Regions from separate parts of the Homo sapiens genome. Here regions 1, 3 and 4 are each linked to region 2. The links are contacts of gene promoters, found by promoter capture Hi-C in blood cells and fetal thymus (Javierre and others, 2016). All regions are on one chromosome and are shown on one strand. The core of a region is centred on a gene start or on the middle of the fragment in contact, and the rest is flanking DNA. Distances in the headings are between cores, read along the strand shown. Region 1 overlaps TBC1D14 (TBC1 domain family member 14). Region 2 holds the start of MRFAP1 (Morf4 family associated protein 1). Region 3 overlaps TBC1D14 (TBC1 domain family member 14). Region 4 overlaps TBC1D14 (TBC1 domain family member 14).

Region 1 (2,700 bases), core at 60-2,559, 330 kb before region 2:
CGAAGGCAAGGGCCACAGAAGTCTTTGCCCTTCACTGTAATCTCAGGATGGATCTACTCAGAGGCTCAAATCTGTGAAACAAACAAAAGGGCCATGGAATCCAAGAAAGAAGGTTCCCCTTTACTCACAAGGCAAAGGACTGCACTTCCGAGGCAGTGTCACCATCCATGCTGCCCTGGCCAGAGTCCAGCTCATACAAAGCCAGCAACCAGAGGCCTGAAGGCAGCTCTCTCCAAATACATGCTCCCATCTTTATCCACAATAACTTCTCCGGTTCACCAGCAGTTACTGAAATTTGCCTGGCCGGTGGGCTTTGGGCCCTTTATTTAACCTGCTGTGGCAAAGATGGCTATTTTCCTTCCAATAGCTAACATTCTCTTCCTGCATACCGATAGTTCTTAAATTTTGGCATGCATTAGAATGACCTGTAGCTTCTGTTAAAACAAAACTTGTTGGGCCCCAGCCCCAGAACTTGGTTTGATGTGTCTGGAGTAAGGCCCGAGAACGTGCATTTCTAGCAAATGCCCGGGTGATGCTGATGTGACTACTCCGGGGACCGCAACTGGACAGCCACTGTTGTACTGTTATTCTCCTACCCGTGGTCATTTTTGTTTCCCCTGTTAAGAAAATCGCTCTCAAACTACCATCGAGGTTAACAAAAAATATGACTTAATTTTCAAAATGTTTATGCAATTTGAAAAGATAACTAAAAGTTAACATTTCAATATTTCCCCAAAATAGTAATATATAAGGCCCAAGCCAAAAGAATGCAGCCCAGTTAGAATAAAATCCGATGTACTGGGCAAATGTCCTGGGCAAACCACATATGGGATCAACACCACAAATCGGACCTATTGATTAAAAGTCAAGACATCCATTCCTTGACTAGTAACGCCGGGCGACTCACTGTGTTCAACCCTGGGCAAAAATACACCACATGCGCATTATCCCTTAGTGTAGAACAATTAAGCAAGTAGATGTCATAATGCCTGTTTAGCAGATGAGGAAACTGAGAAGTAGTCATTGGCTCAACAGAGACAAAAAGTGGTGAAGCCAGAAACCAAACCCAAGCCTGCAAGTCCAAAGCTCCTGGCCAGTGTGCACACCTGACCCCAGCTCAACCACAGGCTCCTTGAAGCAGGTCCAAAGCTCCTGGCCAGTGTGAACACCTGACCCCCAGCTCAGCCACAGGCTCCTTGAGGCAGGTCCAAAGCTCCTGGCCAGTGTGAACACCTGACCCCAGTTCAACCACAGGCTCCTTGAGGCAGGTCCAAAGCTCCTGGCCAGTGTGCACACCTGACCCCAGCTCAACCACGGGCTCCTTGAGGCAGGTCCAAAGCTCCTGGCCAGTGTGCACACCTGACCCCAGCTCAACCACGGGCTCCTTGAGGCAGGTCCAAAGCTCCTGGCCAGTGTGCACACCTGACCCCAGCTCAGCCACGGGCTCCTTGAGGCAGGTCCAAAGCTCCTGGCCAGTGTGCACACCTGACCCCAGCTCAGCCACGGGCTCCTTGAGGCAGGTCCAAAGCTCCTGGCCAGTGTGAACACCTGACCCCAGCTCAGCCACAGGCTCCTTGAGGTAGGTCAACCCAACTGCTCTTGGGCTCCCAGTGCGCAGCACAAGACCTGGCCTCAACATGGCTCAGTACTTGTTGGCCAAGCAGATGAAGAATGCACTGAAGAGCTCAGGCTCATTCTCTTGCACTGTGTTCCGTTGTTCCATTTCCTGTTGTTCAAGGTTGACTTGTCATAAGAAAGAAACAACGGTAACAGCAAATACTTTCTATGTCCACTACTATTCTGAGTGCGTGTGTGTATTCACCCGTTTAATCCTCACCACCATGGAGGCAGGTGCTACTGTTCTCCATACTGTAGAGATGAGGAAAATGAGGCTCAGAAAGGTTAAATAACTTGCCCAAAGTCACACAACCAAACCGTAGCAGAGCTGGGATACAAACCCTGGTAGTCTAACTCCAAAGTCCAAGTTCTTATGTCACCACGTGATGTTGCTCTCTCAAGTAATAAGAAAACTTCCAGAGAAGGAAAAGGAATTTCCTCAACACTTTCTCTAGGCTTCGGCCCTGACTGGAGTTATTGTCACCATCCTGATCACAAGTCTAGGCTGTCATGGCCCCAGCGCCTGCCTCTCTCAAGTGCAGGCTGTGTGAGCCCATGCCTATGACAGCAGCCAGCCCCAGCCAGCAGCGCAGAGGCCTCCCCACAGTGCTGAGTCCCTGACCCTGAGCCCCTCCCAGGCTTCACCAAGTCCCTTGGGTTGGGAGATGAGCGATGAGAGGGCCAGAGACAAGCAAGCAGGTCCCGGGCAGGATTGAATGACTCGCGCAGGTAAGTTACATTCTTTATTATTGACGACGGAAGCAGATGGTCCTCCTCTTGGCAATATTGTGTTACCGCATAATGAACTGGCCTAGTCATTTCAGTTCACAGAAAAAAAAAAATCCTCTAAGGTCAAGAACATAATCCATGCTCCCCTCAAAAAAAAAACAGGGTCGGGCCGGGCATGGTGGCTCATGCCTGTAATCCCAGCACTTTGGGAGGCCGAGGCAGGTGGATCACAAGGTCAGGAGATTGAGACCATCCTGGCTAACATGTTGAAACCCCGTCTCTACTAAAAATACAAAAAGTTAGCCAGGCGCGGTGGTGGGCACCTGTAGTCCCAGCTACTGGGGAGGCTGAGGC
Region 2 (2,700 bases), core at 147-2,646:
CCAAAGTTCCAGGGAGCTATCAGGTCACACAAGAAATAGCAAAGCACCTCAAAAATTTAGAAATAACCACCAAAGCCCGGGAACAAATGTGACTGCTGCAAGAGCTTACAATCTAGGCCCTAATTCCTGTATGTGAGAGCATTTTCAAACAAAATTACTTCCCAAACAAAAACACGTTAACAATCGAAACTCATATTGAGGTCATCAACCACAGACCATAGCAGAAAACGTAGTGTTAAGTGAGACAGAGCATAGACAGGAAAAAAGAGAAAACAAAAGGCTCTCTGGTTTCGGCTTCTCCAGGGTGTCAGCCAATCTCCACCAGTTGACCAGAATCCATTGGCTGGAAACCTAAAGCACAATGGGAAGAAATTCATCATCGAGAGGTTAATCCCAGGCACAACGACCCCCAAACCCTCACGAACGCCACTGTGCAGGACGCCACCTCTTCTGGCCACCACCTGACTCACTCCAGTCTCTAGCAACGTTGACTTGTCCAACGTCTTCCCCGAAAATCCTCTATTTCCACCCCCGCTTGCTGGACGGCCCGGGACCTTGTCCGTTTCTGTTTCCTTGGCGACTCTGAGATTTATGACCCTTCCACTGAACACGCATCACGCCCAAACCCGGCCACTCTGATTATCCCACGCCGCCACCGTCAAAAAACAAAACACGAAGACGGGGCCCAGATCGGCCCTGACCCGAGCACGCCTTTATTCTCCCGCCCCACCCCCGATTCCGGTGCATCTCGATGAAATCATCGCTCTCGAAGAGCGGCCAAGCTGGGGCCGCTCCTCGGCCTGGCGCGGGTGCCCGACTTACCGCCGACCGCGCTCACGACGACTCGCTCTTCTCTATCCGCCGGACCAGCTCCACCAGCATCTCTGCCATCTTCGCAATCTCCTTGGCCTTCTCCTCGGCCTTCTCGCACCTCTTGGCCGCCCGGCCCTCGGCCGCGTCGCCCGGGTTCTGGAGGTGGTTGAGGGCGCTCTCCTCCGAGGCCTCCACCTGCGTTTTGATCTGGATGAGCATATTGTCCATCTCCCACAGCTTGCTCCGGTTCCGCAGGTACGCCCGCCCGTGCTCGCGCGTCAGCGACGCGATGTCCTCGCGCATCTCGTTGATGACCGGGAGCAGAAACTGCTCGAAATCCTCCTCGGGCTCCAGCACCTCCACTTCCTCCGGTTCCGCCAGCTCGACGATGTCCAGGGGCCGCATCTCTTCCCACTGCCTCGGAACCGCAATAGCGATGTCTGTTGGAGAGAGAAAACCGACACTCGCTATGCTTAGCAATAGAGAGCCCGAATATTCCTGAAAACTTTTACCCTTTTTCAACTTTTCTTCTCAGAGAAGCCACGGACAAGCGACTTACGCGCAGAGTAACGGCGAACAAAATGGAGTCCCGGCCGTCAACCAGCGCTCTGCGCGTTGCGGCCCCTTTCACGACACAGCCGGGCCTCTTTACGGTCAGGGGGGCGAGCTGCGGGCGCGCGCACGTCTAGAAAGAGAGGCACCGGCGGCGGCGTCGCGGCCGCACGGACGCGCACGCAGGCACGCGCAGGTACGGGACCGCACGCTCTCGCTCGTTCCTGCTTTCCCGTTACCTCTGTGCGTCACCCCTGTTTTACCCTGTGTTTGGAGGGTGGCCTCTTCTGGGTGTTTCCCTCCGATAGGGCTTCTTGAGCACGCGAGTTTACATTTTTTAAAAAGGCCTCCCGCACTTCCCAGGCGCGGTGGCTCACGCCTGTAATCTCAGCACGTTGGGAGGCGAGGTGGGTGGATGGCTTGAGGTCAGGAATTCGAGACCAGCCTGGCCGACATGGCGAGACCCCGTCTCTACCAAAAATACAAAAATTAGCCGGGCGTCGTGTTGCACGCGTGTAACCCCAGCTGCTTGGGAGGCTGAGACAATCGTTTGAAAACGGGAGGCGGAGGTTGCAGTGAGCCCATATCGCGCCACTGCTCTCCAGCCTGTGCATCAGAGTGAGACTCCGTCGCAAAATAAATAAATAAAATATAAATGAAAATTAAAAAGGGCCTTCCACACTAGAAGAGGAGGATCCTACGTGATAATGCAGCTACCCCAGGTGGACGCTTAAAGCCCCTTCCTTTCACGCAGGGGGACCTGAGTCCCCTCAGCCGTTTTATTTACTTTTTTTTTTTTTTTTTTTGGAGACAGAGTCTGGCTCTATCGCCCAGGCTGGAGTGCAGTGGCACGATCTCGGCTCACTGCAAACTCCACCTCCGGGGTTCACACCATTCTCCTGCCTCAGCCTCGCGAGTAGCTGGGACTACAGGCGCCTGCCACCGCACCCGGCTAATTTTTTGTATTTTTAGTAGAGACGGGGTTTCACCGTGTTAGCCAGGATGGTCTCGATCTCCTGACCTCGTGATCCATCCACCTCGGCCTCCCAAAGTGCTGGGATTACAGGCGTAAGCCACCGTGCCGGGCCTTATTTACTTATTATTATTTAAAAAGTTTTTTTTTTTTATTGAGGCAGGGTCTCGGTCTGTCGCCCAGGCTGGAGTCCAGTGGTGGGATCATGGCTCACTGCAGCCTTGATCTTCTGGCCTCAAGTGATCCTTCCACTTCGGGCCTCCCAAAGTGCAGAGATTACAGGCATGAGCCGTGCGCCTGGCCCTTTCTGCCTTTTTAAAGAGTAGTTTTCCTTCTTCCTTGGATGACAGTCAGAAGGGTCT
Region 3 (2,700 bases), core at 150-2,649, 350 kb before region 2:
ATCGGCTTTTGTGTGCTCTGTGCATGTGGACTCACTTTGTCTTCACAGCAATCTGCTTGGCAAGTGTTACCCATTTTAAAGACAGGGTAACTGAGGCTCAAAGTGAAGTGACTTGCCTGAAGCATACAGCCAGCAAGGCTGGGCCTGCCGCCCTGAGCCGGCCCAATATCATCTGTGAATACACTCAAACCCACAGGTGTGCAGTTTTAGAGGGGAAAGCCCGAGTCCTACACGGCTTAGGTGTGGCCTCTGCAGCCAGATAGCTCTGGGAGCAAATTCAGATCCACCAACCACCAGCTGTGACCTCGGGCAAGGTACTCACTTCAAATCCCTAAGCCTTCTTTCCACATCTGCAAAATGGGAAACCCCGCCTGCCTCACCCTGAGTGGGCTGCTGGAAGGAATGAGGTGATGTCACAGCCTCTGGTGCACAGGGAGTGCTGGAGAAGGGCAGCCCTTGTTGGTCTGCGCCACTAGCTTTCTCTCCCCTCAGACCTGAAACCACGGGAAAGGCAGAAAACCATGCTCTAGTGCCAAACAACAATCTAGGAGCCCTGCCAAGTTGCCAACAGCACAGATACAAAAAGTAGGAGTAAAAGGAAGTAAAAGCCTTGAGTCATGACCAGAAACATCAGATCGCTTCAGTCAGAGCTTCTTACTATTACCAACAGCAACAAACAGTGGCGGCGGCTGACGCTAACAAGCCCAGCACCTCTGAGTGCTTTACGCGTGCACACTGGGTTAACTCCATCTCCTCCACACCAGCCCCCCGAAGGGGCTGCTCCACCCTAGACCATGCTGGGTTAACTCCATTTCCTCCACACCAGCCCCCCGAAGGGGCTGCCCCATCCCAGACCACGCCAACAAGACAGCTGCACAAGGACACGCTGTACCTCACCAGCGCAAAGCTGTGGCTGTGGTCAGATGGCCCAACGAAGGTTCAAGAAAAAAAAGCAGGGATGCAGGCTACCTGAGGCAGGCATGGTTTCCTGCCTCTTCCAGTGGTTTCAGGTCTGAGGGGGAGAAAAAGCAAGTGCCACAGACCAACAAGGGCTGCTGTTTCTCCAGCACTCCCTGTGCACCAAACACACACGGGGACCCAGAGGTGTCCGTGACTTACCCGGCGGGCAAGTGGGGAAGCTGGGTCACAGGCCACGCGCTGGGGTTCCGCAGCCACACTCCTCATCACAGAATTCATGCAAGCCTCTGGCAGACATGCATCAGAAGTAATCCATCATTCAGATTCAGTCTCAGTAGTTTTCACAACCGTGACCGAAACCTCAAATACTGAACTAAGTGCACAGATCAGCAGAGACGCAGGGTCAAATGCTTGTTTTAATCACAGACCAAGGCATGATTAAAATAATAAAGTAACACAGGTGGCCTAGCCTGCTCATACTTGAAATCCCAGGCAAAGCCCTTTCCAAAACCTTAGGCACCCTTTCAGAAGAGAAATGGTGTTGGAAATGGTGACAGGTCCTGCTCTAGACCCGGTTCTCCCAGGGCAACCTGGAGGTGACAACAGTAAGCTCACTGTCCAGGCCAGACAAACCAACTTTAGAAAGAAGAAAGAGGACTGTTCACTCCCAGGATCCCGGAGGGAAGAAACAGCACTGGAGAAAGAACACTCAGTTGTGGATTATCAGCGCTAAGGTCGGGCTAGCAAGGGATAAGGCTCTGGAAGTAAAACCAGAGTTCTAGGTCCTGGCTTGGGTGAGTCGTCTTGTCTCTCAGTCTGTTCTCAGCTATAAAACAGTAGCAACTGTACAGACCACTGTGGCGGTCAAGAGATAAGATATGTAAAATGGCTGGGCACTCACTCCCTCAAGTGCCAAGCCCTTTCTGTGTGCCAGGCAAGTACTGGTGCGGTCCACTTCAGTCCAACTCATCATTCCCAAGTTCCATCTCTGCATGGGACCAAATTTTGAAGTCTCTTGGTTTAAACCAAGCATCGATGCCCGTCTTGCTGTGCTCGTCAAAATCCCTGCAGACTAACAGGTAAAATAAACTGCCCACTTAAGTGACAGCTGCCACCCTGGACAACCCTAAAGGGAATTTATTTATTTATTTTTGAGGAGTCTCGTTCTGTCACCCAGGCTGAAGTGCAGTGGTGCAACCTTGGCTCACTGCAACCTCTGCCTCCCGGGTTCAAGCGATTCTCCTGCCTCAGCCTCCCAAGTAGCTGGGATTACAAGCGCGTGCCACCAGGCCCAGCTAATTTTTGTATTTTTAGTAGAGACAGGGTTTTGCCATGTTGGCCAGGCTGGTCTGGAACTCCTGATCTCAAGTGATCCACCCACCTCAGCCTCCAAAGTGCTGGGATTACAGGCGTGAGCCACTGCACCCAGCCCCCAGAAGGAATTTAGAACAAGGTTCTTCAAAGTTCTAGCAGCAGATCAGTTTGATTGGTCACAACAGCATTTTTAAAAAAAACAAAACAATAAAACACAGTACATAAATACAATTTGCTTCAGCTTTACACTTAGTTATGTCAGTACAATGAGTCTCAATTTAAAGTGTCTAACTGGGGATAATTTCAAAAAAGTTTGCAGGCTGTCAGTTTAGAAGCACAGTTGTTCGAAGTCCCTGCTCTGGGCAGCTTATAAGGAATCACGCTGGGAAAGACGAGACCATACCAACATGGCAGCAGCACCTCACTAGCAGCCAACTTGTGGGGTGTGGTCTGATGACCCAGCTAAGG
Region 4 (2,700 bases), core at 84-2,583, 270 kb before region 2:
GTGACTCCAAGGCCCCTCAGTAAGCTTTGCTGCTCACAAAGGCATGTCACAGACATAAGCACCTCTGCTCACCTCACCCTGTAAACAGCATGCTGAGTTCTACCGTTTCCAGATGGGAATAACAAAACTGGGCTGAGCAGGTGCAGTGACCCCCAACCCCCTACCCCGGTCGCAGGGGGTTGACCTGAGGCATCTGTCCCCAGCACCCACAGCATTCTCCGCAAGGCCTCTCAGGGTCCCCCATGTTTCCTGGTGAGGATTCTGGGGAGACTAAGAGCCTCCTCATAAAAGCAGCTGCTCTTATGAGCGTCCTGCCCTGGAGGGCAGCACGGTTCAAGAGAAACAGCCCAGTCGAGCCTCTAATGCCAAGGAGAACCCACTGGGCAATGGGGCACCTCCCTGTGAACTGGCCTGCCTGGTAGAGGGCTCCACAAGCACCAACCCCTGCATCTCTTTCTCTTTTTGTTTTGTTTCTGAGACAGAGTCTCACTCTGTCGCCCAGGCTGGAGTGCAGTGGCATGATCTGGGCTCACCACAACCTCCGCCTCCCGGGTTCAAGCGATTCTCCTGCCTCAGCCTCCTGAGTAGCTGGGATTACAGCCGCCCACCACCACGCCCGGCTAATTTTTGTATTTTTAGTAGAGACAGGGTTTCACCCTGTTGGCCAGGCTAGTCTCAAACTCCTGACCTCAAGTGATCGCCTGCCTCAGCCTCCCAAAGTGCTGGGATTACAGATGTGAGCCATTGAGCCCAGCCTCTTTCTCTTTTTTAATTCAAGTCCTGGCTCAGGCAGAAAGGACTGGACGCTCCAGGCTCACGAACATGACCAGCTAGCTGCCTCCGCTCCCCAAGCGCAGATGACACATCAGGCACTGCATTCCATGTCTATATGCACTAGTTCTGTCACCTCCACAACCACCCAAAGAGCTGAAAGAAGACTGCGGTCTAAAGGGTGGTGCGTAGTAACAGAGCTGTGCCGGGCTAGCCTGAGTAGCCGAGGCACTCACTGTTTCCACTGCTACACACACAGCCTAAAACAGTGGATTGATCTGCATTATGTAAAATGGAAAAGGCCATTATAAAAGTAGTTTGGCTTTTAAATGGGTGATTCTTTAGGATAAAAATAGTCCTGAAAAAAATTTCCTAGAAGCTCACATATTCCTCCAGAGGGTGAGTGGCAACTTTCAGACACCTGGAACTTAACACAATGCTGTTTAAGTAAGTTTCAGCCCATGTATGTTTCGGCAAACCAGGCAGAAACTGCGGTTATTGTTCAGGGTCCTCAAAGGCTCCTTCACAACCCGAAGAAGCGGACACTTAACTTATACTGACCACTGGTTATGATTAAAGGCACAGGTGGAACTTTTTTTTTTTTTTTGAGATGGGGTCTCTGTCACCCAGGCTGCAGTACAGATGTATGATCTTGGTTCACTGCAACCTCCACCTCCCAGGCTCAAGTGAGCCTCCCACCTCAGCATCCTGAGTAGCTGGGACCACAGGTGCCCGCCACCACGTCCACCCAGCTAATTTTTTGTTGTTGTTGTTGTTGTTTTGGTAGGGTTTCACCATGTTGCCCAGGCTGGTCTTGAACTCCTGAGCTCAAGTGATCCACCCTCCTCAACCTCCCAAACTGCTGGGATTAGAGGCATGAGCCACAGCGCCTGGCCAGGACATTTTAAATTAAAGACTTTCAATGCAAAATGTTTCAGCTTCACTTAGTGATTTGGTAAATTACTAATTAACTAATTTTCCTAAGTAGCTGTGAAGTGACTGGGAGGCAAATGATACATTAGGAAGATATTTAGACTACTTAAAACCGGTATAGTTTATAATCTTAATTATTCATAAGAGAAATAATTTACTGAGCATTTAGCATGCACCAAGCATGCGGGATGCCATCACATGCTCTAATAATCACAAGCCTGCCAAGGGCACTGAGGAAACTATGAGATTCAGAGAGGCTAAGTCACGCACCCAAGGTCACACAGCAACAGAAACTGAGTTCAAACCAGATCTGACATCAAAGCTCATACATGGCCTGCTGGCGTACTTATGAATGCAGTCCCTAAACTTTATCCCCCTTCCTCTCAGCTCCCTTAATGTTGCCCAAAAGGTATATTCACCCAATAACCCTGATCATCGATAAGCTGAACACTTAACCATTCTTACACTTCTATGTATGTTTGTTAGGCTGCAAATGAAGTTTTAAAAATAAAATAGGCCAGGCGTGGTGGCTCACGCCTGTAATCCCAGCACTTTGGGAGGCCCAGGCAGGTGGATCACCTGAAGTCAGGGGTTCAAAACCAGCCTGGCCAATATAGCAAAACCCTGTCTCCACTAAAAATACAAAATTAGCCAGGCATGGTGGCACATGCCTGTAATCCCAGCTACTGGAGAGGCTGAGGCAGGAGAATCGCTTGAACCTGGGAGACAAAGGTTGCAGTGAGCCGAGATCTCACACCATTGCACTCCAGCCTGGGCAACAAGAGCGAAACGCTGTCTCAAAAAATAGAATAGAATAGAACAGAACAAAACAAAAAACAAAACAAAATCAACAGGAGGGAAAAAATAATGCAGGTTCCAGCAGCAGGCTGCCTGGGTTCAAGTCCCAGCTCCTTCGCTCACCAGCTGTGTAAGCTTGGACTCATTTCTTAACTTCCCCGAGCCTTGGTTTCCTTGCAGCAAAATGAAGACAGTAAG

The links. The method cuts DNA at HindIII sites, captures the fragments that hold promoters and counts their contacts. A CHiCAGO score of 5 or more calls a contact.
Region 1: a contact is called between a fragment that was not itself captured here and the fragment with the promoter of MRFAP1 in region 2, in 10 of 17 cell types (total CD4 T cells, naive CD8 T cells, total B cells and 7 more). The highest score is 10.2, in total CD4 T cells.
Region 3: a fragment that was not itself captured here is called in contact with the fragment with the promoter of MRFAP1 in region 2 in 9 of 17 cell types (neutrophils, naive CD4 T cells, naive CD8 T cells and 6 more); the score reaches 16.8 in neutrophils.
Region 4: a contact is called between a fragment that was not itself captured here and the fragment with the promoter of MRFAP1 in region 2, in 8 of 17 cell types (naive CD8 T cells, non-activated CD4 T cells, activated CD4 T cells and 5 more). The highest score is 9.8, in naive CD8 T cells.

What each region holds. Positions count from the first base shown.
Region 1 is chr4:6,969,518-6,972,217 of GRCh38, reverse strand. The region is part of intron 3 of TBC1D14 (TBC1 domain family member 14); the gene reads right to left. Among named protein-coding and RNA genes, the nearest start is that of TBC1D14, 61 kb to the right of the region's middle. RefSeq lists an enhancer at 803-1,440. The HindIII fragment of the contact is 3,338 bases long and covers 1-2,700 here.
Region 2 is chr4:6,639,381-6,642,080 of GRCh38, reverse strand. It overlaps MRFAP1 (Morf4 family associated protein 1), which reads right to left and starts at 1,396. Exons shown (of 2, transcript NM_033296.3): 1 at 823-1,396; 2 at 1-351. The coding sequence starts at 1,218. The coding sequence ends at 835. LOC124900653 (a long non-coding RNA gene) reads left to right here and starts at 1,460. Exons shown (of 2, transcript XR_007058007.1): 1 at 1,460-1,561. RefSeq lists a silencer at 359-428 and an enhancer at 2,402-2,700. The HindIII fragment of the contact is 23,430 bases long and covers 1-2,700 here.
Region 3 is chr4:6,989,817-6,992,516 of GRCh38, reverse strand. All of the region lies in intron 3 of TBC1D14 (TBC1 domain family member 14), which reads right to left. Among named protein-coding and RNA genes, the nearest start is that of CFAP184, 52 kb to the left of the region's middle. The HindIII fragment of the contact is 3,241 bases long and covers 1-2,700 here.
Region 4 is chr4:6,912,814-6,915,513 of GRCh38, reverse strand. All of the region lies in intron 1 of TBC1D14 (TBC1 domain family member 14), which reads right to left. Among named protein-coding and RNA genes, the nearest start is that of TBC1D14, 4.3 kb to the right of the region's middle. The HindIII fragment of the contact is 2,613 bases long and covers 27-2,639 here.